6 separate regions of the Homo sapiens genome follow, and all the other regions are linked to region 3. The links are contacts of gene promoters, found by promoter capture Hi-C in blood cells and fetal thymus (Javierre and others, 2016). All regions are on one chromosome and are shown on one strand. The core of a region is centred on a gene start or on the middle of the fragment in contact, and the rest is flanking DNA. Distances in the headings are between cores, read along the strand shown.

Region 1 (4,703 bases), core at 1,811-4,310, about 11 Mb before region 3:
ACATTCTTTATCAAGCAAACATTGGGTACTAACTTATTTATGAACATGTCAAAATCTGCACAATGAATAGTATATTCATTTATAATGATAAAAACACTTTACATATTTTTGCTGGCAGTAGGAATAAGAACACAAGTTAAAATCCAAATGTAATCTTAATTTTATTCCCTTTATTATCTCTTTAGTAAAAAGTTAGGTCAGTTGTTTCCGTTTATTTATGTCCCTACCAAAGTAGAAACAAAGTCCAATCTTGGGAGGATGTAGCTTGAATAACTGGTTTAGAAATGTACTTATTAGGGGTACTTATTAGGGATTAGTGGATAAGTGCTTAAATGGTTGTGGATAACAGTGCATATAGGACTCTCAAGTATTTCTATAACAGACACTTGTGCGTTCTACTCTATATTTGACATTTAGACAAAAAAATCAAATGAGTTCCTTAGACTATCACTTTTTCATAATAAAATTTAAATTATGAAGGCCCGTCCAATTCTAAAATGATGTGAACTTCAGGCAGGCTGATGGCACAGCAGGCAGTGTGGTAGCATGTGTATGTGAGTGTTTATGTGTGTGTTGGAGGTGGGGAGAGGGTTACAGTTGGAGCTGAGAAAGGAGTTAGGTTCTCACATAAACTCCAGGAATACAGCCTTGGGCCAGATGGAGGCAAACAGTATTTTCCTGCCTAATTGGTGGGAGTCGATGGCCCAGAAATAGGGTCTAGAAGGGAAACGGAGCTGCAGAGGTTAACACCTGGAGGGGTAGACCAACTATCGCAACTAAACTGGTTACCATTTGAGTGCACACTATATACCAGACACCGTTAGACACTGTGCAGACGTTCTCTCAAAACTTTTCACAACCATGACAGGTTGTAAGACAGGCTGTGGGTCTTCAGGGGTCGCGGGCATCCCCTAGACACAGCCGCAGGGCCTGCATGGAGTTCGCTCCTACCGGCGACCAAAAGCGCTCGCTCCGGCTCCAGCATCTGCTCACCCCCACGCACCCTCCCATAAAGGGTGGAGCGCAGCAGGCCTGGGTGACTGGAGTTCGTGGCTTCCAGCACTCCAGTTCCCGCCTCATTCACTCGCGCCCCCCCTCCCGCGAGGAGTTGAGAGCCGTGGGCTAAGTAAGTGAGGCACCGCAGCCGCAAGACCCACGAAGGGGTCAGAGGAATATCCTGCTTCAACTGCACTCCAGCCTGGGTGGCAGAGCAAGACCCTGTCTCTATAACACAAACAGAGAAATACCAAATGTGGCCGGGCGCGGTGATTCACGCCTGTACTCCCAGCACTTTGGGAGGCCGAGGCAGACGGATCACTTGAGGTCAAGAGTTCGAGACCTGCCTGGCCAACATGGTGAAACCTGGTCTCTACTAAAAGTACAAAAATTAGCCGGTTGTGGTGGCGGGCGCGTGTAGTCCCAGCTACTTGGGAAGCTGAGGTGGGTGGATCTCTTGAGCCCGGGAGGTGGGGGTTGCAGTGAGCTGAGATCGGGCCACACTGCACTCCAGCCTGGGCGACAGAGCGAGACTCTGTTTCTAAAAAAAAAAAGAAAAAAGAAAAAATACAAAATGAAATGTGAAATTTCAATGATTCTGCATTAGGAGTTAAATGTTCCTTCCCTTTAATAGCACTTTTCCCCTTCTTTTTGAACAAGGGACGCTGCATTTTCATTTTGCATTGAGCCTCACAAATTACACAGCTAGGCTTGCTGCTGAATACGGCAGTGAGGGACATGCCATACCAGTCCTGGAGCTTCGTCATTGCCCAGACCCTGTGGATCAAATGCAGTGGGCTGCCTAAAGGATCGGACTTTTTATCCCCGGAATTGTCCAAACTATGGAGCAAAGCAGGTAAAGAGACCAGATTACTTTTAAGGCCCGTTCAATCCTAAAATGTGAACTATAAAATAAGACTAGACAGCTTTACTGATTTTTGTGGTTTATCATATGAAAACAGAATTTTGAAAGCGGAAAAATCAAACCAGTTCATTCCTTTTTAAAATTACTTTGGGAGGCCGAGGCGGGAGGATCACCTGAGGTCGGGAGTTTGAGACCAGCCTGACCAACATGGAGAAACCCCCGCCTCTACTAAAAATGCAAAAATTAGCTGGGCATGGTGGCGCACGCCTGTAATCTCAGCTACTGGGGAGACTGAGGCAGGAGAATCGCTTGAACCCGGGAAGCAGATGTTGCGGTGAGCCAAGATCGCACCGTTGCACTCCAGCCTGGGCAACAAGAGCGAAACTCGGTCTCAAAAAAAAAAAAATTACTTTGGGAGAAAAAAACCCCACCAAAACTAAACTAGTTTACACTGTTTAATCTTAACTCAGGAACCGGTCAAGGAACTAATGGTGTGGGGCAGGGGGGATGTAGGAGGAAACTTAGGAAAAACAAATCCTCCACAGGTCTCACTTGTGACATGTTAGCCAACTCCTGGGAGGCAGAAAGGGTGAGCTTACGAAACAGGTGCAAAAGTGGGGAGGAGACCTGGGCGTGCTATGGAATAACACTGGCGTCCAGCACAAAGGTTACACACTTCGAGTCATGGTCAAAGAATGAGCCTTCTCCAATATTTTAACACACAAGGGTTTCTGAAGGCAGAAATAGACAAAGGATTACAAAACACTCAGGCACACATCCCACCCGTCACCCTCGCCACACACCCGGGACCAGATTTAGAAAGCCAGGCGACAGCTCAGCAAACGCGAGACCACCGGAAACGAACCGGGCTGAGAGGCTGTTTCCTCACAGTTCTCATCCACTCACAAGTGACCGCACGTTTTGTTTTTGTTATTTGCCGAAATGTTCTTGGCTATTCCACTCACCTAAACGGTCACGGTAGCAAAACACCCAGAGTCCGGATCTTCGCCTAGGCCAACCCCGCCTCCTCAGAATACGCGAGCTAGAGCTCCGCCCACGTTAGTCAGTCCTCCCTGCGCGGCGAGAAAAATGGCGCCCCCACGTCGCGTCTCCTCCCACCGCTCGCCTTCTTCCCGGAAGCTAAGTTGTATCGCGAGATTTCGGCCTGACTATTACTTGGGCCACGGAAATAGCCAACCCTTTTCTTCCGCACGGTTGGAGGAGGTCGGCTGGTTATCGGGAGTTGGAGGGCTGAGGTCGGGAGGGTGGTGTGTACAGAGCTCTAGGACACCAGGCCAGTCGCGGGTTTTGGGCCGAGGCCTGGGTTACAAGCAGCAAGTGCGCGGTTGGGGCCACTGCGAGGCCGTTTTAGGTAGGTTGCTAAGAGGGCGAGGCCGTCCGGGCCTGGCGGGCGGGGGAGGCGTTGCATATCTGGGGTTTCCCGGGGCCCCTTCGTTGGTCCGGAGGATCGAGACTCCGAAGTCGGTCCGAGAGGGTGAAGGGATCACGGCCGCAGGCCACTCCGCGCCACGCGGCTGGTATGAGTCCCACACAAACGTGGTTGTAGTGTGGACGGGCTTCATTATATCTTGAGATGGAGGTGTTAAATCGTGTTGCGGACAAGTTTAACCTTATTACGTGATTTAAATGATTTAACCTTCGTATGTGAGGTACCCATTACTCGCGCCGGTTTTCTGCAGGTTAGGCGCTGCCGGGTGAGAGGCGCTGGTGGTCACAGCGTTAGCTCCGGGTAAAGCGCCGCTCTCTGCCCACGTGGCCTCTAAGAATTGCAGAATCCCCACGGAGGCATCGACACCCAAGTAGGAGTGTCTTCTAAACACTTCGAAAAAGTGATTATTGAGCTAGCTTTATTTTGATAATCCCTACTTTTAAAAAAAATTAACTACAGGTATACCGTTAAAGCATGGGGGCAAATTTTTGTTGAATTCCGTTTTTGAGCATTCGATATTTAATGACTTTGTAGAATCTTGTACTTAAAAAAACTAGTAAGACCTTGTACCAGGAAAATACCACAGGGGGCATTTAACAAATCTGAGCTCTTGGTGACCTTATCGTTTCATATTTTAAATATTTTGCTAGTTCATCCTAGGATTTATATGTAATGACTCATGTCAGGTCCCAAGAAGCTACAGAATGAGACAAGAGATTGACTAAGGCATGTACAATAATGAAATAAGTAGTTATCTTTAATTTTTGTTGCCATGCCTTTTTTTTTTTTTTTTTTTTTTTTTTTTTTTTTCCTGAGACAGGGTCTTGCTCTGTCGTCCAGGCTGGAGTGCAGTGGTGCAATCTCGGCTAACAGCAACCTCCACCGCGGCTTAAGCGATCCTCCCGAGTGGCTGGGAGCAAAGGCACGGGCCAACACACCTAGCCAGTATTTTAAGAATTTTTTGTAGAGACAAGGGTCTCCTTGTGTTGCTGAGGCTCACTACATACAAGCTCCACCTCCCAGGCTCAGGTATTCCACCTACCCCAGCCTCCTGACCACAGGCGCGCGCCACTATTCTGGCTAATTTCCGTATTTTTTGTAGAGACGGAGTTTCACCACGTTGCCCAGGTTGGTCTTGAGCTCCTGGGCTCAAGCGATCCGCCCGCCTCGACCTCCCAAAGTGCTGTGTTACACAGGCCTGAGCCACCCAGACCAACCTGTTTTTCTTTTTTCTTTTAGCTCACAAGAAGGAATCTTTTTCTTTTTTTTTTTTTTTTTTTTTGGTATGTTGTATACTCTCTACCATGGGGATGAAGACACAAGAATTATGATAGTTCATTGAAAAAGGTTGAGAATTCAGAACTTGTCAGTTTCCACCAATAATGGCAAAGA
Region 2 (4,364 bases), core at 1,151-3,650, about 11 Mb before region 3:
ATTGTTAATATTAAATGTACTTCACTGAATCCTAATTTTTTGGAAAACTGATCAGAAGTCACTATCTATGTATCACATATGCATATATAAATATCCACAATCACCATAATTTGTGTATTTTACTAACCAGTTTAATACAGTTTTCTGGCTGTATGAGAGTCAAAAATCACATAAAAAGCTTCATAAACATATCAAAATAATCTTTTGATTGTATTAGGGAACGTAAATAAAAGAGTTCCTGGAGATATTAAGAAATTCCTGGAGACTCCCTTCTGGGAAAAGCACAGAATAGTAGAAAAGGCAGTGGGGCTATGAGTTAGGTGCTGGAGTTCTAGTCTTGGCTCCCTAACTACTGGCTTGACAGCAACTTGAACATATTACAAATCTCTTTAAGCTTTAGTTTTCTCTCTATAAAATGAAGAATGCAGATTTAGGGAACTCTATTAGTCCCCCAGCACAATGTTTCTAGATTCTGAAACTATTACTATGTGAGTAATTCTATTCAATTAATTTTATTTACAAATGGGTTCTAACAGTCATTACTTCTTCTCCATGACTAATTTGGTTATGGTCTTGACACTTGTTTTCCTTAAGGACCCAAGTAGCCTCAATGATTTCAGACTATTCACCAACTCATCTTCCTGCTACTTCTCTTTCATCTTCAAATGTTCAAAAATTGAATACACTGTTTATGAAATAGCAGCAATTCTACCCAGCTCTCAATATGCTCCATAATTTCGCCTAACTTTTCTAATCCATCCCTTAAAAAAAAAGGGAAGGAAGGATTAGATGGAAAAACAGGGACTTAAGAGAAAATAACTTGCTTAATTTAAGGTCACACAGTTAATGAAGGCAGAGGCAGGATTCGAATCCAGGTCTACCTGATTCCAAAGCCATTATATCATCACATTTTTGTGTAATATATCACAGACCAAGGACCCAGGCTATAAGAATTTGTTAAGATTTGGTAACCTTTAAAGTATTACATTCTTTTTTTTTTTTTTTTTGGGATGGAATCTCGCTCTGTCGCCCAGGCTGGAGTGCAGTGGCGCGATCTCAGCTCACTGCAACCCCCGCCTCCCAGGCTCAAGCAATTCTCCTGCCTCAGCCTTCTGAGTAGCTGGGACTACAGGTGCCCACCACCACGCCTGGCTTATTTTTGTTATTTTTAATAGAGACAAGGTTTCACAGCATTAGCCAGGATGGTCTCGATCTCCTGACCTCGTGATCTGCCCGCCTTGGCCTCCCAAAGTGCTGGGATTACAGGCGTGAGCCACCACGCCTGGCCTTAAAGGTATTACATTCTTAATGAAACTTAACTCTTCCAAGGATCATAGGTATATAATAAAAAAATAAAGGAAATGCAGTTGTATGGCTTTGTTTTAGACCAGTTAGTCTTTAAATCTTCATCTGGACTTAATTTTGCAAGAAAGGAAAATGGAACAACAGGCACAAAGCCAAAAAAGGGTCCTGGGATTTAATAAATAAAATTTTATTATTCAATTAAAGTCCACAAATACCTGTTTTGGAGGAAGTGCATCCTGAGAGACAGGATCAAGAGTCATAAATTTTTTATCCCTAACAATACTGAGAACATCATAGAGAACACACATCTCTGTCAGGGCACTTCTCAAATTGTTCCTCACTGAGTCCCAAGGCCAAAGGGAAGGCTGAAATTTTACCACTCCTAAAAAGAGAGAGAGAAAAAAAAGAAATACAGAAGTATTCGTTACATTGAATGGCAGACAGCTCACTTAGGTTTAAAAAGTACTAAAAGGAGAAATAATTAATTAAATTTCAAATTGTTCTCTTATTTATGCCATCTCCTCTACCGTTTCTTAAAACTTTGTTAACATTCACATTAGCATTCCTACAATCGCAAAATGAATATGACATCTATTTCCACAGGTTAAATTTATCATTACAACATTATAGACTCAAATCTCTTTTCAAATTTATGTAAACCTTTTTAATAATCTTCTTACAGTGTTTAGAACTTGAATTTACAATTGTACAAAATTTCCAAAATACAGAAAAGTACAAAATGAAAATGACCTGTAAGCCAGCCACTATTAGCATATCTTCCTTTTAACCATTAAAAAAAGTATTGTGATTAAATACATGAACATTCACTATATAGAGTTCACACAATAAAGAATTAGAGGGTAAAAAGTGAAAGTTTTCCTTCATTCCCCACCCGATTCTCTCCCCTCCTGAGAGGTAACCACTATTAACAGATGGAGCGTAGCCTTTCTTTTCTTTTTTTTTTCTTTTTGAGACAAAGTCTTGCTCTGTCACCCAGGCTGGAGTGCAGTAGCGCGATCTCAGCTCACTGCAAGCTCCACCTCCCGGATTCATGCCATTCTCCTGCCTCAGCCTCCCCAGTAGCTGGGACTACAAGCACCCACCACCACGCCCAGCTAATTTTTTGTATTTTTAGTAGAGACGGGGTTTCACCATGTTAGTCAGGATGGTCTTGATCTCCTGACCTCGTGATCTGCCTGCCCCGGCCTCCGAAAGTGCTGGGATTACAGACGTGAGCCACTGCGCCCGGCCCCAGTGAGTGTACCCTTTCAAAGGTTTTTCTATGCACTTACATACATCTATTTCCAATTTTCTATTACTTGCCTTTCCCCCGCCCCCACTTAATATTTCCTAGAGACACTTCCATGTTAGTACTTATGAGTCTACTTAATTCTTCTAACACTGTATGATATTCTGGAACATGGATGTACGGTATGTTTAACCACTTGTATTTAACGGACATGTAGATTGCTTCCAACAAGTAAACTGCTTCCAACAATGCTAGCAGTGGTAAACATCTTGAATATATACCCTGTATATGTGCAACTTTTTCTGCAGGTTAAATTTTTAGTCGTGGTAATAGTGAATCAAAGGAGATATACATTTAAAAGTTTCGGCTGGGTGCAGTGGCTCAGGCCTGTAATCCCAGCACTTTGGGAGGCCGAGGCAGGGTGGATCACCTGACATCAGGTATTTAAGACCAGCCTGGCCAACATGGTGAAACTCTATCTCTACTAAAAATACAAAAATTAGCCAGGCATGGTGCCGCACGCCTACAGTCCCACATACTAGGGAAGCTGAAGTGGGAGAATCGTTTTGAATCCAGGAGGCAGGGGTTGCAGTGAGCCGAGATTGCACCACTGCACTCCAGCCTGGCCGACAGAGCAAGACTCCATCTCAAAAAAAAAAACAAAACAAACCAAAAAAAGTTAAAATTAAATGTTGGCACATATTAAACTGCCAAATTGTCTTTCAGAATCACTACCAGTTCACATTCCTAACCCTGAATATTAACAATCTTTTCAATTTCTGTCAATTTTGTGCATGGAAAGAGTATCTTAATCATGTTTTAATTTCCCAGTCCCTAGTAATGAGATTGAGTCTATGTTCTGTTTATTGGTATCTGAAGTCTCTCCTCTATGAGCCTTCAGATACCTTTGGCCTATTTTTCCAAAGTGTCATTATTTTCTTTTCAGTCTGAAGGGACTTTTTGAATAGAGAAGATATCAACTAAATTTGTGTTATATGTGTAGAACTTCTCCCAGTCTGTCATTTATCTTTTTACTTTGCTTATGGCATCTTTTCCCATTATTTTTAAATTTTATGTAAGTAATATATCTATACTTTGTAAGGTAGGTAGGTGTGTGGTTGTGTGTGTGGATGTTAGAGTCTTGTTCTGTTACCCAGGCTGGAGTGCGGTGGCACAATCATAGCTCACTGCAGCCTTGATCTCACTGGCTGAATCCATCCTCCTCCCTCAGCCTCCCCAGTAGCTGGGACCACAGACGTGCACCACCACGCCCAGCTAATTTTTTTAATTTGTAGAGGCAGGAGCTCCCTATGTTGCTCAGGCTGGTCTTGAAGTCTGGGCTCAAGTGATCCTTCCACCTTGGCCTCCAAAAATGTTGGAACTACAGGTGTGAGCCACCATGCCTGTCCTGTTATTTCCGAAATTAAGAAGATCTATCCGACTCCCAGAATAATACAACTATTCTTTCATTATTTCTTCTAACACTTTGTTTTACTTTCTTCATTTGGCACTTCAATCCTCAAAAATTACTGTGGAAATAATTTTTGTGTGAGGTATAAAGTAGTATTTACCTTTTTTTGCAAATAGACCCCTAATAATCCTAACAGCACTGCCCTGAAATGACATCTTTAAATTCCCATTTACACTGGGTGTGCTGCATAACTAAATTAAGAATTTTGATTTTTTTTTCAAAAATCCTTGACAATAATGAGAATCTGAAACCCACTCATTATTTCTTCACTTCCCTCCTAGTCTCCTCCCTTCCAGTTTTGCTTTCCCTATAATTCATTTATTAGAAAGCATCTAGAGT
Region 3 (4,680 bases), core at 724-3,223:
AAAAAGAAAAAAAACCCTTCCTTTTCGTCCTCTTTAAATTATGAAAGGACCACCTGAAACCGTGTATCTTGTGAAGAGGTTTACCCAAAAGAGTGGATGGAACCTAAAGAAGAATGAACCCAAGTCACTTAAAGACTTTTGTTTAAAACACACAACCACGTAGATAAAAATAAGTCTTGGAAACAGATTCTACACCTTACAAAGGTAAATAAAAAAGACAAATACATATTTTATATGTTTTATTCACAAATTTTATAATACCAGTCACACATTTCAAAACCATTTATTAGAGTCAGACCACTCAAGTTTTACACTAGACAGAAACCGTCTCTAAACAATATATTGGTGGTTGTTGTTAAAGTGGCCTTTAAAAAGGGGTTCACTCTGCTAAAAGGAGGCTCATCCTGATAATTGCAATCACTAACAACTAGAAAAAACTAAACCGTGAGTACAAGCTTGAAAAATAAAATGTAGCACTGGGACGCTATTAAAACTCATTGTAACTAAGTTGAACAGTAACTTTACTTAAATGACATATCGCTCCCATATGAATCCACAGAAGAGGAGGACTACAGGGAAATATAAGGTGGCAGAGGACCACTTCTGTCAAGGGGTAAAGAAAAACACTCCTTCGCTATCAGGGAAGGGAGAAAAAGAGAAAAGGAAGAGGAGGAGGGACTGAACTTTTCAGAGAAACTGCAAGTACTTGTTACCCTCTGGGCCAGTTCTCCACCTACAGGTTGGATAAGATCTCCTCCCCCCACCCAAACCCCACCCTCAACCCCACTTGCCCCTATTTTGGGACAAATTAGACCCTCCAATAGGAGAATAAAAGTTTTATCTAGCCGCCCCCACCCCAAAATGGGGCTGACGGGAGTGAGCAGCTGCCTGGCTGGCAGGGAATGGATTCTCCTCTCTTCCCTTTCGCATCATGTGCTTTTCAGGCGCCATGTTGGGCTCCTAACAGGCGGCTGCTCCACTCGGGGCCAAATCCCTATTCCCACCCACCAACAGCTCGCTCCCAGGTCCCCCTTCACCTCCTTCCAACCCACAGAACACAATTACCAAAAAGGGTGCTTGGGGAAAATGGGAGACCCACTCTCCCACTTCCCAGGGAATTAAAATGGCTTATGTTAACTCTTACTTCCCCAAACCACAAACTGCCTTTAAGTCTCCCCCACCCCAAAGGGCTCTATTCAAAGCGTGTGTGTGTCGGGATATACAATGCGGTGGCCTAAAAAGGGAGTTGGAAAGCGGAAGTGGGACTCCACCCTTTATCCTCCCCACTCCCTCCCCCCCAGAGGCCCATGCTCGAAGCCTGGGCCAAAGACCGAGCCTGAGTTGGAGGGGGGTGGGGGGGTTGGAGAGAAGGAACACTGTCCCCCTTGGGATGGAAGCGAGACCTGGGATGAGGCTGACACTAAAATCAGGGAGTATTAGAAGTAATAGGAGGCTGCGGGGTGTATAAAAACCTTGGCGGTTTGGGCCTCGATGAGAGAGACGATCTCCTTGGCGAAGGGCAGGTTCTCCTCGGCTAGAATGGTCAGCATATTGATGTGCGGCTTGCTATTGAAGGTCAGGTCTTCGAGCGATGACTGATAATCCCGACAGGCGTCCTCCCGGGCCCCCGCAGCACCGGCCTCGGCCGGCGTCTGCTCTGACATTGCGCCGCGGCCCCCCTCCGAGGTCCGCTGCAGCTGAAGCTGAAGCCGCTCTGGATACCCCGCCTCCCTTCCGACTCCTCTTCCTCTCCCCGGCTCTCTCGCGGCTCCGGCTTCACCACATGCTGACCGCGGAGGGGGGATGGGGGACGACACAGGGGGAACCTCGGGTATGAAACGCCGCCGTCTCGCGGGTGATCTCCGTCCACTTCCAGCCGCCACAGAAGCTTCTTTCTCCACAGACACAAAATGGCGGCGGCAGTGGCGGCTCCAGCTCCGAAAATGTCTGTGTTCCCAACCGCTGCGTCGTGCGAAATGAACTAGGGGAGGGGAAATGTGCGGTAAAAGGGCGGGGCCACTGATAAAACCAGGCGTGATTGGCTGTCCCGGCAACGTCACGAGCCCCGCCCCCGGCCCTTCCGCAGGACGCCCTGGCACCGCCTTCTTCTCCGGCCTCTACCCGGACTTTCGCAACATCTACTGCTCGGAGGCGCACTGGAAAAGACGGCCCTTCTCATTGGCCGATTCATAAGGGACTGTTCGGTCATTTGTTACCATAACAACCCATTCAGGGAAGCCAATAGGCCTGGGAAGGCAGTTCCCGCGGCCCAACCCAACCACTTTGAGAAGAAGACTCAGCCGTCCCCTCTTCGTCCCTCCCTCTAGCTTCCCAGCCACTGAGCGGGCCTGTCAATCATCTTTCCTCCCGCCTGCCCCGTAGCTGCTACCGACGGTGGGGGTTGGAGGGAGCGGGGGTTGGAGGGAGCGGAGGCTTTCTGCCGCCGCACCCCCTCTCCCTTAGCGTCTCAGGTGCTCTGGAGAGCCAGGGCGGGTCCAGCTGCCCCTCTGGGAACTGGGAAGTGGGAGGGAGGTGCCCAATTTACCCGGAACTTCGGAAAGCACTGCTGGAGAGTTTCTTCCAGCACGCCGCTTCCCACACCCACAAAAATACCTAGGCGAGCTTGCCTGACTTGAATCCCCAGGAAAATGCCTTTTATTTAGAGATTAAGTGTGAAAGGCTTTTTCCTTGGGGGTTTGGAGGAGCTCTTTAAGGAGCCCACTATGAGCTCTAGGAAGAGTTTTTCACAACAGCCACACCCAGCTGGACCGTAATATCTCCACTGTGAATCTGCATTTCAGAACCTCCTTAGCATACACTATTTGGGGCACGTAGGAAAACACACACGCGCATGCACTTTTGTTTTAAACTTGTGGGGCTGTCTTCCCAGGTTGGAAATGATGCTCGTAAAACACACAAAGCTTTCAAATAGTTCACCGTGGAGCTGCGACATAACACAAACCAAACGTAATTTTTTCATTGAGTAGCGATATTGACCTAAATATAAGCTTTTAAAATGTGTCAATTACGGGCTGGGCGCGGTGGCTCACGCCTGTAATCCCAGCACTTTGGGAGGCCGAGGCGGGCGGATCACGAGATCAAGAGATCGAGACCACCCTGGCCAACATGGTGAAACCCCGTCTCTACTAAAAATACAAAAATTAGCTGGGCGTGGTGGCGTGCGCCTATAGTAGTCCCAGCTACTCGGGAGGCAGAGGCAGGAGAACCGCTTGAACCCGGGAGGTGGAGGTTGCAGTGAGCCGAGATCACGCCACTGTACTCCAGGCTGGTGACAGCGAGAGTCTGTCTCAAAAAAAAAAAAGTGTCAATTACCTAAAATTGCTTTTCCATTGCCTTCCGTAGGCTACTAGGCATTTGAGAGATAATTTGTTGCTCCCCAGAAGAAATTGCTCTTAAAAAATAAACTTAGCCGGGCATGGTGGCGGCCGCCTGTAATTCCAGCTACTTGGGAGGCTAAGGCAGGATCACTTGAACTCGGGAGGCAGAGGTTGCAGTGAGCCGAGATCGCAACACCGCACTCCAGCCTGGGCGACAGAGTGAAACTCTCTCTCAAAAAACAAACAAACAAACAAACTACTCTTTACTTGTCCCATATAAAGTAACATTTTCATTTCTTCTTTTTGTTTCTTTGAGTTTTTTAGCATCTTTATTGTTGTCTAATTGAAACATAATGAACTGCATAAAGTGTGCTGCAAAGGTTAAGTTTTGACATGTATTTTCCATTTTTTTCTTAGCATGATATCACACATGAATGAAAAGTAAAACCTGGGGAGGAAAACTGGTCTTCCCTCATTTGAAGCTAAGAAGTATTGTTAAATAAGTATTTATAATCTCAATAATTTCACACTATTGTTAGTGGTGCTATTTAGATATACTAGAAAGTTTCAACTAATAACGTCCAAAGGTTTTATTTTCTGGAGGGAAATGACCAGGGTGAAATAGTCCTCTGTTCATTTTCTTTTCATTTTAAAGGTGAATTTCATTATAGAAATGTCTGCCTTTTACAGTTTTTAACTTTCTTTTAACAGCAAAGTGAACTTCTAAAAAAAAAAAAAAAAAGGCTCCAAAGCTCTGATTTGGCTTTTATTGTATCCCTCACAGACTATATACAGAGTAAACAATTAATATATCTTAGCACATAAATCAACAAACTTATGTCCCCACAAATGACATGGAAAACTCAAGAGACTAGCAATCTTATTCAAATCATGTGCTGTACTGTAACAAGCACATTTTTTCTTTAAATACTCAGGACAGGGCACAAACTAGATAACTGGAATTTTAAATACAAATAAGTGCACAAAACTTCTCTCATGGATTTTCACTACCAGTTCTTTCATCAGAATATGCAACGAATTTACTTTCCACCAACATTAAGCCCCGGTTATTTCCTATCTCTATGCTAGGTGCAGTGGTGAACAAGATAGCCCCTTGGCCATACCTTCATGAAATGTATACCTCAATCATAACCTCATGTAGTAATGTGAAAAAGTACTACATTTGTCCAGGAACCAGTGGTATCCCAGGACTATTTTCAATAATCAAATCCACTAATTATTGTGTTTCTGCAGAATATGAAGCATTTCCATTGTTTTTGAGGAAAATAGCTATACCCTTCCCTTGGTTCACAGAGTATTTACAAGAGGAGTTAATTCCTCC
Region 4 (4,767 bases), core at 278-2,777, about 12 Mb before region 3:
TTGAGACCTGGCCAAGACCTCAGAGCTAGAAATATCTGAATGAGATTACAACCCACAGGCTCTGAATAAAGCACCTGAAAGCCAGCCTCCTGTCCACTGGTGTGGTCCTGGGCAGCTGTGGCCGTCAGGAAAGGGAGAGCGTTGGGTCAGTTCTTCCCCCAGCAGCCTGGGCAGGGGTGGGAGGCTGGTGAGAGGGCAAAGGGGAGTCTGGCAGGGTGTTCTAGAGAGGAGGCCAACTGAGGAGAGGTATTAAGAGCAGGCCAGCAGGTTCGGAAGACTCTGAGGGCTTCTCAAGTGTTTGGTCACCTTTACCAGACGGGACAGAACACCATGAGAGGTGACACGATTTCCTAGTGGTATGATAATATAGATATGAGGAGTCAGGAAAAACTGGCTTATCTTTCCATCAGTTGGAGGTAGTCAATGTTTCCCTATCATTTTTAACTACCCCATTGCGTTTCTAAAAATCTGTATCTTTATTTCATTGTTCTAATTCAACACAACCGCAGATCGAATTTACTCAACGCCGTGGTAGAGGAAGGATTTTCAGGCTAGGATGAGCTCTGCAGAAGAGAAGCTTTACTTAGTAGAAAAGGCAGTGAATTTCTAGACAGAGACCTGCCCCATCTTACTAACTGGGTAGTCTTCCATATGTCTCTTCACCCCCTGGGTTTATCTCCTCTTCTGTAAAATGGGGATGAAAATGCCCACCTACCCACCTCCAAATGAGTGCTATGGCAATAAGTTGCACGAAGGCCTGTGAGCGCCCAGCCTAGGCTTTCTGCGGATCTGAACGGTCTCCAGGGTCTCTGTATCAAGCTCTTCACCATTCAGGAATGAAACACTGCGGATGTCTGCTCAGAAATGCAGGGAGAACCTCCTCCCACAGGGGACCTCCCGCCCTGCAGCTCATGAAGTGAAGGCTCGCAGATCGCCAGGCTCTTATTGTAGCTCGACAGGGGCGAGGCAGGCTAACTCCGGGGACGCAACAGGGTGGACCTGGAACCCGGGTTTCTTGGCCCAAGGCACCGAAGGCGTAGGGATTGCTGTTCCCGGCCCGCCCCTCGCGGTAGCTGCAACTGGGGGCATGTCCAGCGGCACGGTCTCCGGCGCCCGCAGCCCGGCTCGGGAACCACTTCGCTTACCTGCGGCTCCACCAGCCATCGCTGCTCGGCGCCGCCGGGCGCAGGGCGCGGGGCGCGGAACGCGGAGTACACGGGGATGCGGTCCCGGGTGCTGTAGAGGGTGGCGAAGCGCTCAGCACCCTCCGCGCGCTGACAGATCTTCACGTGGGAATCGGCCGCCAGCCCCGCAGGCGGGGTCCCGGCGTAGAAGAACTTGTCACATTCGCCAAAGCCGGCTTCCTCCTCGCCCACGAGCCGGCCTTCCAGCAGCCCAGCCAGGGCGAAGAGGCTGCCCAGCGCGAGCCAGCGCGCGGTGCCCATGGCGGCCTCTGCGAGCGCGGCGGGGCCGAGCGGCTGGGCTGCCGCGGCGCGAGCTCTGCAGGCTGGGCGGGGAGCGCACTACGCAGCCGAGCAGGGTAGGGAAGGGAAGTCGCAACCTAGGCGCGGCGCTCTGCGGAGCCGGGCGGGGCGGCCCGGGCGGCGGGGGCGGGTCCGCGTCGGGAGGCCGCGCCTCCCTCCCTGAAGATGGCTGCAGAGGCCCAGGGCCGCGCTCCGCGATGCTGACAACGTACCCTGGGCTGCGCCCGGGACTGGAGACGCGGGTCACCTGCCTCCGCGCCGCCTGGTCTCAGCAGTCCGGGGGACGCGCGCTACCAAGAGTGGAGAATCCGAGTGGGGCGGGCCTAGTCCCGGGGCTGGGAAGAGATAGTCGCATGGACTGGGCGCCAAGAAGCCTGCTGATCGCGCGCGCCCCACGGCCGCCCTGGTGATGCAGAGGGGTGGCGTGAGATGCTCGTGGAGCTGCGGCTGGTTCGGAGTGGATGGGCAGAGTTCCCCTCTGAAATTTCATGAAGATGCGTCTCCCACTCTCCACCGAAGTACTCAACGACCAGCACACGCATACAATTTTGATGGAGTTTTTTGTTTTTTGTTATGTTTTTTTAGCTCACCAGAAACTCAGAGAGTAAAGAAATACTGTTAAAGGAAGTTCCTAAACTAGGCAGACAGTATAACCCTGTGTGGTTTTCTTGGTGCAAGTGTTAGAAACAAAACCGATACCAAGCAAGGAAGGAGGCCAGCCAACGTCATTGGTCAACAGGTTGGCCAATTCTTTCCTTCATTTATCCCTCTGAATGCCTAGGTGCCAGCCTGAGATAGGCACTGGATTACCACAGGGGTAAACAAGAGCAGGGCTCCTGCGGTCACAAAGACAGCCTAGTGGGAAAGTTTGTCATTAACCGAGGAAACATGCTATTAAAGGGATAACTAAAAACTGAACACAGATCTGTGAGACCCTGACAGCTACAGGGGTTCAGGATGTAATCCGGGAAGGTTTGCCTGAAGAAGTGGCATCTGAGCTGAGACCTGGAGGATGACATTAACTAGGCAAGGAGGAAAACCATGTGCTAAGTGGTCTCCCACAGAAGGGAACATGATGTATTGGAGGAATTTAAGGAAGGCTAGTGTGGGTAAAGCGCGGAGAACCGCGTGGGGGATGATGGGAAGTGGGGCTAAAGGAGGAGGCAGGGGTCATATTACTCAGGTTATTATAGGCCAGAGGCCTTCAAACACTTTTTGAGAAGGCCCATAATGAGAAAAGTTTGATGAAATAATTCTTATGCTTATGATTGGCATTGCAATTTCATATTTCTGTTCTACTTCACTTTTTTAAAAAAGTGCTGGTGTTGACCCACTAAATTGTTTCTATGAGCCACTAATGGCTCATGACCTGCAGTTTGGAAAAAATATTGTAAATCATGTTGAGGATTTTCATCTTTTAAAGGTGGTGACTCGATTCTTTTTGCTATCAGGGAAGAGACTGGTAGATTGAAGTGGCACAGAATAAATGGGTGGCTCACACCTGTAACCCCAGCACTTTGGGAGGCTGAGGCAGGCGGATCACCTGAGGTCGGGAGTTTGAGACCAGCCTGGCCAACTTGGTGAAACCCGTCTCTACTAAAAACACAAAAAAATTAGCTGGGTGTGGTGGCGGGCACCTGTAATCCCAGCTGCTTGGGAGGCTGAGGCAGGAGAATCGCTTGAACCCAGGAGGCGGAGGTTGCAGTGAGCCAAAATTGTGCCACTGCATTCCAGCCTGGGCAACAGAGCCAGACTTTGTCTCAAAAAAGAAAAGGAAAAGAAAAGAAAAACACCCCATAATTGCCACAATCCAGATAAGAGATGGTAGCTTGGACCAGGATGGTAGGATGGTGGCAGCAGAGATAGGGTCAAGGCAGCTACCCAGGGCCAGGGCCTGTGCTCATCTTACGATGTCATCTGTTTCCCCAGTGTGCCACTACAGGGACTGAGACCAGAGCCTGTTGATTCTGGCCTAAGCTGGCACAGCCAGTGAGTCCTAAGACAGATTTGAAACAGGTCTCTCTGCTTCCCAAGCCTGGCCTTTTCTTTTAACTCACAGCGCATCTGTAAGGTGAGCCCATAAAGAAGGAAGCTCTTCAAGAGATTATACATTGGAACTTAAGAACAAATTTCTTACAGGTTTTAATTCCGGAAAATGTTGACTATGTTTGGTCCCAGAAATGAAACCAAAGTTTGTATCTTAGTTTTTTTAAAAAAAGGAGGGGACACATTTAGTGTGATGTCACAGAAGAGGCTAGACTTGAAGTCCCCTTTGATCTGGATGATGACCCTGATCATCTGGTACTAGTATCTCAGTCATCTCATCCTTGTAGGCTTCAATCAAGTCCTCCCACAGGGACAATGCTGCTCCTGGGATGCTGGGAGGATTATAGGTTTTACAGGATTTTAAAAATATTTACATTATTTTATAAGGTTGAATATAGGGTTCCCCAATGTTGACTTATGATGTCTACCATAAAGATATATAAACACAGTTGAACAACTAGAAATCCATCCCTCTCTTCTCTGAGTTCTTTAAACATTTATCTGTTATGATACTTATCATGGTAGAGTGTTAATAGTCCCTGTATCTGTCTTCTTTATTAAATCATGTGCTCCTAGGGACAAAGGTGGTTGGTGGATCCCAGTGGCTACCACAAAATCTGGAGTGATTAGATGCCAAATATGATTATGTTGTATTTTAACAAATGCAGAAAGTATAATACAATCATCATTGGCCTTTATGACTAAAGTATTTATAAGACTTTAATTCACTTTCTCAAAATTTCTTGATGCCTGCCCGCCACCTCTGATAAGCATAAATATCTCTGCCACTCAGTCCCTGTGGCAGACTTTAGTTTTTTCCCCAGCCCTCTATCAGTGACTGACACACATATAACACTGAACATTTGTACATCCCACAGCCAGGATGATTTTGTTTATTTTCTTTAGTTTATAGTACAAGACAATAGATTTTTCTTCCATGTGCTTGCCTTCCACAGATAAAATATTACTTTTGCAAATTACAAATGTTCTCACCCCAAGATTCTGGAACAACCTACAAGGTAGGAATGCCTTGATCTAATTAAAACATTTGCTAACTGCTGATTTTAGGGGAAAACTGTCTTTAGCAGCATCTGTATGTGTAAAACATGTAGGTCCATCAATAATTCACTGCTGTCTCTACATTTGGTCACTGACTCTCTTCTCACAGGGAAAGAGGTTTCAAACCAGATCCTCTTAGGTCTCTGCACTCAGACCCAGCCAAAGCTGGGTTCCATAG
Region 5 (4,654 bases), core at 573-3,072, about 20 Mb before region 3:
GGCAAAGTGCCTTGCATGTACTGAGTTCAAAGTAAATGTTTATTAAATACAATCGAATTAAACCTAAGAATAAAGATAGTGAATAGGGTGAATGATTCAATCATCCTATAAAAATGCACTGAAGCCAGGCACGGTGGCACACACCTGTAATCCCAGCACTTTGGGAGGCCAAGGCGGGTGGATCACCTGAGGTCAGGAGTTCGAGACCAGCCTGACCAACATGGTGAAACCCCATTTCTACTAATTGCAAAAAATTAGCTGGGTGTGGTGGCACATGCCCTGTAATCCCAGCTACTTGGGAGGCTGTGGCAGGAGAATCGCTTGAACCCGGGAGGCAGAGGTTGCAGTGAGCCAAGATTGTGCCATTGCACTCCAGCCTGGGTAATACGAGCGAAACTGCGAACTGCGTCTAAAAAAAAAAAAAAAGGCACTGAATGTTTTTGCTGAGTGTCAAAAACTCTGCTAGACCTAGGGATAAGGGTGAACACCAAAGGAAGAGGTTTAAAATATGTCTTTGTTTTATTAACTTAAATCTATTTACTGAGTCCCCTTTAATGTGTCAGGCAATTTTCTTCTGTGTTTTTCTTTTAGGCTTATATATATAAGCCCTGATTGCAAATGCAACCCATTTTTTAAGCAATCCTGCCAGTGGAGGGAGCAGTGCAATTAATAAATCAGTATATCACATGATGTACACCAAAAAAGAATTCAAACTTTATTTTGAAATATATCATTTCACAAAAATTTAAATTCCTAACTAATCTTTCCCTTGGGCAATGTTAAAATCAGAGCCTGATCCAAAAAAGATAGACTAGAATTTGCCTTCCCCCCAAAAAAAAAACTCAAAAAGGGGAGAGAAAAAAATAAAAATAACTAAGTAAATGTTTTCTTTTTAGTTATAACGTATCTGCAGTCTTTCTTAAAAAGTAGAATATAGGCCGGGCGCGGTGGCTCATGCTTGCAATCCCAGCACTTTGGGAGGCCGGATCACTTGAGGTCAGGAGATGGAGACCCACATGGCCAACGTGGTGAAACCCCCGTCTCTACTGAAAATACAAAAATTAGCCAGGCGTGGCGGCGCGCGCCTGCTACTCGGGAGGCTGAGGCACGAGAATCGCTTGAACTCAGGAGGTGGAGGACGCAGTGAGCAGAGATCGCGCCACTACACTCCATCCAGCCTAAGCGACAGAACGAAACTCCGTATAAAAATTTAAAATAAAACACAATCTAATTGCTTCTATTCAGATGTATGGAAGGGAAACATGCTTCGGTCAGGTAGGATGCAAAGCTTGGAAACTACCTGCTTAAGCACGAGGCCAACGCATCTAAGCCAATAATGCAGGAGAAGTGGAGACAGCCTTGGGTTCCTGAAAAGGATCTGGTTGGTAAAGCTAAAGAGTGTGACCCGACGTCCCTCTGGCTGGGCCTGGGGACTTGAAGAGTGGTCAGGGGTCAGGCAGGAGTGCAAGGAACCGTACCGTGTTGGAAAAGGAGATTCCTGCGTCGGATCGCTGCACCCTGAGGAGCATCTGGTTGCCGTCATCCAAGAAGTTGTTGATTTCAAGACAGTTGCACAACAGTGGCTGATCCCAGAGTTCAGACATCAACCCGAAGTAATTCTGGGTAGTAGTGAAGATGAAGAGCTTCCGAACGTCCGCAGTCCCGTTCGCCATGATTGGAAGGGGTGGAGGGAAGTTGGGGGAAGGGGGAAGGAAGAAGAAACCAGTCCGGAGGGAAGTGAAGGGAAGAGAGGAGCTTTGCTCAAACCCGTAGCCCGACCGCGGGACCGCAGAGCTTCGCGGTTGCCAGGGGTAGTCGCTATGGCGACGGAGCACTACGGCGGCGTCGCTGGCGGCGCGCGGTGGGCGTTGCCCTCTCGGGGCACGCGCACGCAAAGCTCGCGGAGGCTATCGACCGCCTCGGAGCTCTTCAGCGGCTCCCTGCGGTCATCGATTGTAAGGGGTTCGGACAAGTTTATGTTGGCTCTCAAACATGTCTTTTATTCTTCTTACTGATTTCTTATCACGCATAATCAGAAGAGAGACATCTAGCCTTCAAGTACAGCAGCGTGATCTAGATTTAGGAGAGCTGGGTTCCAGTGCTCGCTCTCCACGTGCACCTGGTAGCAAACCAGTCTGTCAGCGTCAAGGTACACATCTGTTAAGAAGGGGAAATACTATCTCACAACCAGGGGTGTAGTGCGGATTGTAAAAGATTACTATTTAAAAATCGCTTTTTAGAGAAGCTTATAAAGACTAGGAATTCAATACAATGTTAATTTACTTTCTCAGTCGCCCTCTGCTCCTTTCTGTGCTGCTGCATTTCCCAACATCGTTTTTTCTATTATTAATTTTAGAATAATTTAACCAGCAATTTTTTATTGCAATCATTACCCGAGCACAACCATATTTGTAAAATAGCTAAAATGTAAAATGATACTTTTTAGTTTATTTTATAACAACCGCAACCAAATTCTGTGAAAATACAGATATGAAAACGGTCTTTGTCATTTTCTACTTCATGGCATTACTATAAACTACTAAATTGCTGGTCATTCATCCGAACATTCGTCAAACACTTTCTCAATTCAGTAATTCTCTTCTAAAAATATTTACTACATGCTATTAGGTTGGTGCAAACGTAATTGCGGTTTTTTGGCAAGAACTGTAATTACTTTTGCACCAATCTAACACAATTTGCCAAGTACCGAACTAGGCCCTGGGGACACAGTTCCTGCCCTCAGGAAGTTTTTGCTGTAGTCATTCATCACCTCAGCACTGGTTTGACCCAAGATCCTAGGGTACACAAACATATGCAGATTTTTTTTGTTTGCACTTAATAATCATAACCTCCCCTTAAAACTATACTATTTGAGAATTGGAAGGAGAGAGTCCTTTTATTTGCTGAGCAACTTAAGATTTTGGAGTGGGAACTTAAAAAAGCTGAACTGCTCTAAATTATAAAAGGAAATGAATGTAAATTCTCATGAAATATCCAAACAGTGAGAGATGGGAGTCTGGCCACTGGATGGGAAAACATCCAAACAGTGAGGTGGGATGCTGACCACTGGGTGAGGGAAAAAATCCTAACAGGAACCCAAGATGACTGTGTAGCTAATAAAAAGATTTTGAAAGCCAAAGTGACCACTATGGTTACAGAGTTTCCTGCTCTGCAATGAGCATTATCACTCTTACCAAGGTCTTCAGGAAAGTCTCCATTACCCACAAGTGCTCGGTTTGGTGAGTTGTTTTGGTGGAAATGTATGAAATGGCTGAATTGAGCTTCCATAACAATATGGTAAATAAAAAGGCAACACATGTAGGAAGATGAGTCTAGAAAGCAGATGAGATCATGAGTATGTGATCCTCCCAAGAATTTTTAGAACTCTTCAGGAAACTTAGGGCTTCCACAAACTATGAAATTGTGTTTGAATCAAGTTTAACACCGATCTCAAACATGGAAGCTCCCGTTGACATGTAAACCCCATGAAATAGAAGTTTTGTGTTTCCTTTTCACTACTATATACGAAAAATGAGGCACAGAGTGGGAAGAAAAGACAGATACGGACTTTATGTATTGTATCAAGCATACAATAAAGAAGAAAGAACCTCACAGATTAAATAACTTACACAAAAACACAGAGATGGTAAGTGGTAGAACCAAGATTCCTACCAAAATCCAATTCTGAGCCAATCTCTATATACCATATCACAGTGTTAGCCAGATATCCACCAAAATCTATTTTTCCCTTCCATAGCTAAGAAGTGGCTACCATCCAGGTGTGGTCATGTGACTAATTCTCACCAATAAAATGTGAGAAGAAGTAATGTGTGCGTCTTCAAGGCAAAGTTTTAAAGAAGTGAGAATACCTTAACTTTTGCCAGCTGGTTGCAGATAACAATAAAGCAACAGGGATGGCAAAACTTTCCAAGAGTAGGACCCTAGGATCCTGAATCACAGAGTGGAATAATGTCTGCAGTTGTTAAATAAGCAAGAAATAAGCTTTGTTGTGTTTGAGGCATTGTACATTAAACTGTGTGGGCTATTTTTATGGCAATTTAGGCTACTCTAACCAAAAGAGTAATTGATATCCATAGTGTAGTAATGATTTTTTTTTTTAATGTGGAGCATTGTCTTAGCAGTTGTCTGGCAGGTGGCATAAAAACAGGTAACGTGAGCTGAAGGGGAAGGCCCAAAACTTTCTGAGACAGGGTTTCCTAATTTTGTCCTATATGCCATTTCCCAAACTTTTTGGTGACCTTTTTATACTTTATACTTTAAACAATTATTTTTATACTTTAAAAAATTACTGCCAGGCACAGTGGCTCTCGCCTGTAATCCCAGCACTTTGGGAGGCTGAGGCGGGCAGATCATGAGGTCAGGAGTTTGAGACCAGCCTGGCCAATATGGTGAAACCCCGTCTCTACTAAAAATTCAAAAATTAGCCGGGCACAGTGGCGCACACCTGTAATTCCAGCTACTCGGGAGTCTGAGGCAGAAGAATAGCTTGAACCTGGGAGGCAGAGGTTGCAGTGAGCCAAGATCGTGCCACTGCACTCCAACCTGAGTAACAGAGCAAGACTCTGTCTCAAAAAAAATAAAATAAAAAAAATTACTGAAGACTTCAAAAGGATTTTGTTTCTGTAGTTTATTT
Region 6 (4,432 bases), core at 960-3,459, about 20 Mb before region 3:
CTAAGGAAATATGATATTCGGATTGACCAGATTAGGGTGCCATTGTGAGGGTAGTTTCACAGGAACCACTTCAACTATTACTCAAAGACTTTTAGTCTTCTCCCATCACAGTTGGTTTGCAGAGATTATTTTACCAACAGAATTACTAACGACTTTCTACTATGTCTTTACATACAATAACCATTATTTAAAAACAGTATTTCCACCTAAGTGGAGATGAATAGATTACAGTGTGTTTTGGGTCTAGGGGGAGGTTCCTTAGAACTGTCCCCCAAATTTCTCTCTACTGAGTCGCAGTCACCTACTGTCTCTTATCGGAGAGGTGAGCTCTGTGGAAATAATGGCAGAGCTAAGTTTCAATACAGGACAAAGTGATATGCAAAGGTAGGGAGAAGGGGGAGTGGGTGGCTGATCACAGGCCCATAAAAAAAACACGCAAGACACAGGGTGACAATGCATTTACGGGGTGGGAACACTTCAGGTGAGGTTATCGTGTGGAAGAGCTCAGAAGTGGAACTTGGTCTACTTTACCAGGTTGTTTTTAACGTCAACTGCAAAGTATTAGTAGTTTCACTTTTTGGCGGTGACTGCCAGCATCAGAGCGCGGTAGAAGCTTCATGAGAAAGGTCAGGATACCCTGGACAGGATACAAGAATTCCGCGGACTGCCGCAGTCGACGGGTCAGACAGCTTCGCTCTGCCTGGCCTACCTACGAGTGGCAGAGGCTAACCGGAACCACGCCCCTTCCCGGGACCGGCTCCGCGATTGCGTCACTTCCGGGCCTCAGCGATTCGCCTCCGGGTTAGGCTGAGCCTCTTGCTTGCTGTGACTGGTGGAGCTGCCGCGCTGTCCGCGTTATCTCCTCCCGGTGAGAACGAACCGCAGTGTCCACCGGCGAGGAGCCAGCCCTGTCCCGGTCAGAGAAAGACGACGAGGATACCTGGGAGCGGGCGGCGGCCGGGCTGGGCCGCGCCGGTGCGGGCTGGCGACTCTGCTCCTCCGCTTGCTGCTGTCTCTGGGAACTGGGTGCCAGCGCTGAGGGGCTTCCAGCGGACAGGGACCCCCTTCCCCGGCTCCCCTGCCCACCCTGCCGGGGAGGGCGGAAGATGCCGGTGAAGAAGAAGAGAAAATCCCCTGGGGTGGCAGCAGCAGTAGCGGAAGACGGAGGCCTCAAAAAGTGTAAAATCTCCAGGTACCATCTCCCCCCACCCTTCAAGCTTCCCTCCTCCCTCCTTTGCTGGACAACTGGAGGAAAAGGAGTCGGGCCCGGCCTGCCGGGCTGGGGCTGGAGACAGGTGAGGCCCCTTTGATCGAGCTAGGCTGTAGGTGCCGAACACCGCGAGTCTCCGCGCCCGACCCGACCTCGTGTTCGAGTGTGTGCACGCTGGCGTTTATGGAGAGACTAGAAGAGCCGCCCACGTTAAGAGTCTACGTGCCCTGCAGGGTGGGGAACAGATGCATATGTAAATTGCGCTTCCCCCCACCCCCACCCCCACCCCACAACCGACCCTCGATCCCCTACTCCCGTATCGCTCCTCTGCCTTTTTCTAGACTTAGAAGTGAGTACATATCCGCAGAAGGGTCACTTCTAGAATTTCTTTGTAGAGTGTGAAGAAAGCAGAACATAAGGAATCTTGACAACTGTCTTGGGAATGGTAGAAAGGAAAACTTGTATGCTATAATTGGCCTCCATATTTAGTATTTGGAGTGGCCTAACCCGGAAGGTCCCAGCAGGAGGCCTTTTAAATTGCAGGAGCCCCATTTTCTGGAAGTATAGTGCCTCACCTATGCCAAGTCCCTGTGTGCAGAGTTGGAAAGGCCCTGCATGCTTTTTGTCTTCTAGCATTCAGGACGCTGTTAGCTCTCAGCATAAATTAAATAATTTGTGAGCTCTTGTACTCTGTCCTACTGGTAAGAAAGAAGACAAGGCAGAACTATATAGTAGTAGCTCTTTGATCCCCTTGTAGCATATCATGGAGGCATCACAGCAAAATTTATGCTACAAAAAAACTGCAATTTTGGTTTGAGAAATGGTTTTTTTGTTTTTTTGTTTTGTTTTGTTTTTCTGAGACGGAGTCTTCCACTGTTGTCCAGGCTGGAGTGCAGTGGCGCGATCTCCGCTTACTGCAACCTCCGCCTCCCGGGTTCAAGCGATTCTCCTGCCTCAGCCTCCTGAGTAGCTGGGATTATAGGCGCCCGCCACCACGCCCTGCTAATTTTTTGTATTTTTAGTAGAGACGGGGTTTCACTATGTTGACTAGGCTGGTCTTGAACTCCTGACCTCGCGATCCGCCCGCCTCGGCCTCCCAAAGTGCTGGGATTACAGGAGTGAGCCACCTCGCCCGACTGAGAAATGCTTTTTTAAAAAATAACCATATTAGCTGCCTTTTCATCAATGGTTGGCACTTGATATGACAACTTCAGATGCTACTATTGAAAGGAGACTGTAGCCAGGATTATAAGAAGGAAATAATGATAGAGCTCTCCTTAAAGAGAGATCTGCTTAAACTGTGAGGTAGATGACTTACATAGTCTGCATCTTCTTTTTTGTAATTGGTCGACTTTTTTCCCTCATTACTGTGTTTTGGTAAAGGAGTCTATGGAGTATTAGGCTATTAATGTGAACGATGATACATACACCTCTTGTTTGTCAACATTAGAATTTGACATGGTTACTTTAGTAGCTCACATTTTTATAAGATACAGGCAAATTATTATTCATTTTTGTACTATATCATGGCCATCTTAAGTATATAATGTATTAAAATTATTTAAGTTAAGTACATTAAGATAGCTGAGCAGGCAGTATTATTAGAACTCAGGTGATACTTTGCTCTATCAATTTAAATTTTTAAATATGATACTCTTACTTTACTCAGTTACAGAAGTTCTATCATTTCTATATCATTGTGGTAGGGTAATTATTTGAGTTCCTTGAAAAAAGTTTCTCTGAAGGCCATTAAATTCTAGAGGCCATTTTGAACTTACCAAATTTTAGTTATTTTATGAAAAACAATGAAAATGATTTTATGAAAAAAATGAAATAGAATGAACAGAACCTAGGATTAAATAGCCTTGTCCCAATTATTTGGACTATTATTAACTTTTAGTGTTTTTTTGTTGTTTTTTTTAAATCTGTGTAATTTAATATACCCTTAGGTCCTAAGTCATCATTTATCTTTAAAAATCTATTTAAGCTTAGGTGATAAAACAACTCTTAATATAACATTTTATTTTGAAATATTGATTCATTAAGTATCAAAATATACTTTGTAAGAGTTTGTTTTCAAATATTTATCTATTACACACAAATAGAATTTCTATGCAAATCAATAGAATCATAATAAATATTTATACTTTCCCACCTACTAGGTTGAACTTCTTTGTAGTCTTTTAAAATGTGCGGAAATAACTTACTGATATTTTTGGATTTTGATACTGAGTGAAAAGGTATTTGGGTTTTGTTAGCCGATAATTCTTATGTATAGACTACTGTTTCAAGTTGCAATTACTTAACAACTTCAGTTTTTTTCCAACAATGCCAACCGAAGAAAAAAAAAACCTTTGTTTAATGTGAATGGAAGTTGTTAATTTTGAACTTAGTTTTTCTCTAAGAGTTGAGATGTGATAAAAATCTTAGGCGTCTGTGTGTTTTCTAAGCTATTGCAGATCCCAACCCCCTGCTAGACTAATAAGTGGAGAGGAACATTTTTCAAGCAAGAAGTGCCTGGCTTGGTTTTATGAATATGCAGGTAATGAAATTAATATAAGAAGATACTAGTCATATGCTTTAAAAAGTTTATTTGCCTTATTCATTTAACAAATTATCTGTTACAGGCCTGCTATGTGTTAGTGCTGTGTACTGGGATGAGGGTCAGGACTGAAGATTGTGGGTAGACTAAAAATTTGTTGCCAATTTAGGCTGATATTTCTTTAAATATATATTCGGTATATATTTACTGGGAGGGAAGAACTCATTTACTATTAATAAAACGTGTAAACAAAGATTCATTTATTTACATCTATTGGCTAAAGTAGTATTCTGGAAAATAAAAGGTACACAATAAAACATTTTTGTATTTGATATTGTGGAAAACACAAAGTACATAATAAAACATTTCTATTCAATATTCTCTTTTTGAAATTTTTCTGAACTAACATTTTCTGAAACTTTTGGGGAGACATAGTAAAAGATTTAAACCCCTCAGTTATAATTGTACAACACATTTACTTTTTAACAATTATCATTTAGCCATCCACTTCTACTAGAGATGCAATAGTAAGAAAATAAATAGACTGATATTAATACAGTGTGATAAATACTATATTCAGAAGATACACTGTGAGAGTTCATAGGAGGGATATATAACCCAGCTTTTAAAGTGTCATGGGAGTTTTCTAGAGGAGCTAACTTAACCTCAGCTAAATCTTG

Evidence for each region. Contacts are between HindIII fragments. The CHiCAGO score rates a contact against its expected background, and 5 or more counts as called.
Region 1: the fragment with the promoter of TAF1D here is called in contact with the fragment with the promoter of PCF11 in region 3 in 2 of 17 cell types (activated CD4 T cells and monocytes); the score reaches 7.1 in activated CD4 T cells.
Region 2: a fragment that was not itself captured here is called in contact with the fragment with the promoter of PCF11 in region 3 in 1 of 17 cell types (fetal thymus); the score reaches 10.5 in fetal thymus.
Region 4: the fragment with the promoter of ENDOD1 here is called in contact with the fragment with the promoter of PCF11 in region 3 in 1 of 17 cell types (non-activated CD4 T cells); the score reaches 5.5 in non-activated CD4 T cells.
Region 5: a contact is called between the fragment with the promoter of DYNC2H1 here and the fragment with the promoter of PCF11 in region 3, in 3 of 17 cell types (fetal thymus, non-activated CD4 T cells and naive CD8 T cells). The highest score is 11.3, in fetal thymus.
Region 6: a contact is called between a fragment that was not itself captured here and the fragment with the promoter of PCF11 in region 3, in 1 of 17 cell types (fetal thymus). The highest score is 5.9, in fetal thymus.

Annotation. Positions count from the first base shown.
Region 1 is chr11:93,739,852-93,744,554 of GRCh38, reverse strand. It overlaps TAF1D (TATA-box binding protein associated factor, RNA polymerase I subunit D), which reads left to right and starts at 3,060. Exons shown (of 6, transcript NM_024116.4): 1 at 3,060-3,233. It overlaps C11orf54 (chromosome 11 open reading frame 54), which reads right to left and starts at 2,883. Exons shown (of 9, transcript NM_001286069.2): 1 at 2,827-2,883. RefSeq lists enhancers at 1,131-1,670, 2,191-2,310, 2,077-2,762, 2,891-3,400. The HindIII fragment of the contact is 24,379 bases long and covers 1-4,703 here.
Region 2 is chr11:93,785,324-93,789,687 of GRCh38, reverse strand. It overlaps MED17 (mediator complex subunit 17), which reads right to left. Exons shown (of 12, transcript NM_004268.5): 2 at 1,521-1,687. Among named protein-coding and RNA genes, the nearest start is that of MED17, 3.2 kb to the right of the region's middle. RefSeq lists an enhancer at 2,622-3,121. The HindIII fragment of the contact is 4,008 bases long and covers 397-4,364 here.
Region 3 is chr11:83,154,424-83,159,103 of GRCh38, reverse strand. It overlaps PCF11 (PCF11 cleavage and polyadenylation factor subunit), which reads right to left and starts at 1,973. Exons shown (of 16, transcript NM_001346413.3): 1 at 1,473-1,973. The coding sequence starts at 1,664. RefSeq lists silencers at 808-867, 2,318-2,397 and enhancers at 1,668-1,917, 1,214-2,003, 2,068-2,117. The HindIII fragment of the contact is 1,033 bases long and covers 1,891-2,923 here.
Region 4 is chr11:95,086,606-95,091,372 of GRCh38, reverse strand. ENDOD1 (endonuclease domain containing 1) reads right to left here and starts at 1,527. Exons shown (of 2, transcript NM_015036.3): 1 at 1,146-1,527. The coding sequence starts at 1,445. RefSeq lists a silencer at 1,276-1,705 and enhancers at 1,716-1,775, 1,846-2,125. The HindIII fragment of the contact is 8,670 bases long and covers 580-4,767 here.
Region 5 is chr11:103,106,594-103,111,247 of GRCh38, reverse strand. It overlaps DYNC2H1 (dynein cytoplasmic 2 heavy chain 1), which reads right to left and starts at 1,822. Exons shown (of 89, transcript NM_001377.3): 1 at 1,479-1,822. The coding sequence starts at 1,673. RefSeq lists enhancers at 1,990-2,039, 2,110-2,229. The HindIII fragment of the contact is 957 bases long and covers 1,291-2,247 here.
Region 6 is chr11:103,088,547-103,092,978 of GRCh38, reverse strand. It overlaps DCUN1D5 (defective in cullin neddylation 1 domain containing 5), which reads left to right and starts at 819. Exons shown (of 8, transcript NM_032299.4): 1 at 819-1,192; 2 at 3,661-3,752. The coding sequence starts at 1,107. RefSeq lists enhancers at 365-414, 485-534, 464-1,081, 1,082-1,699 and a silencer at 1,225-1,519. The HindIII fragment of the contact is 1,980 bases long and covers 1,220-3,199 here.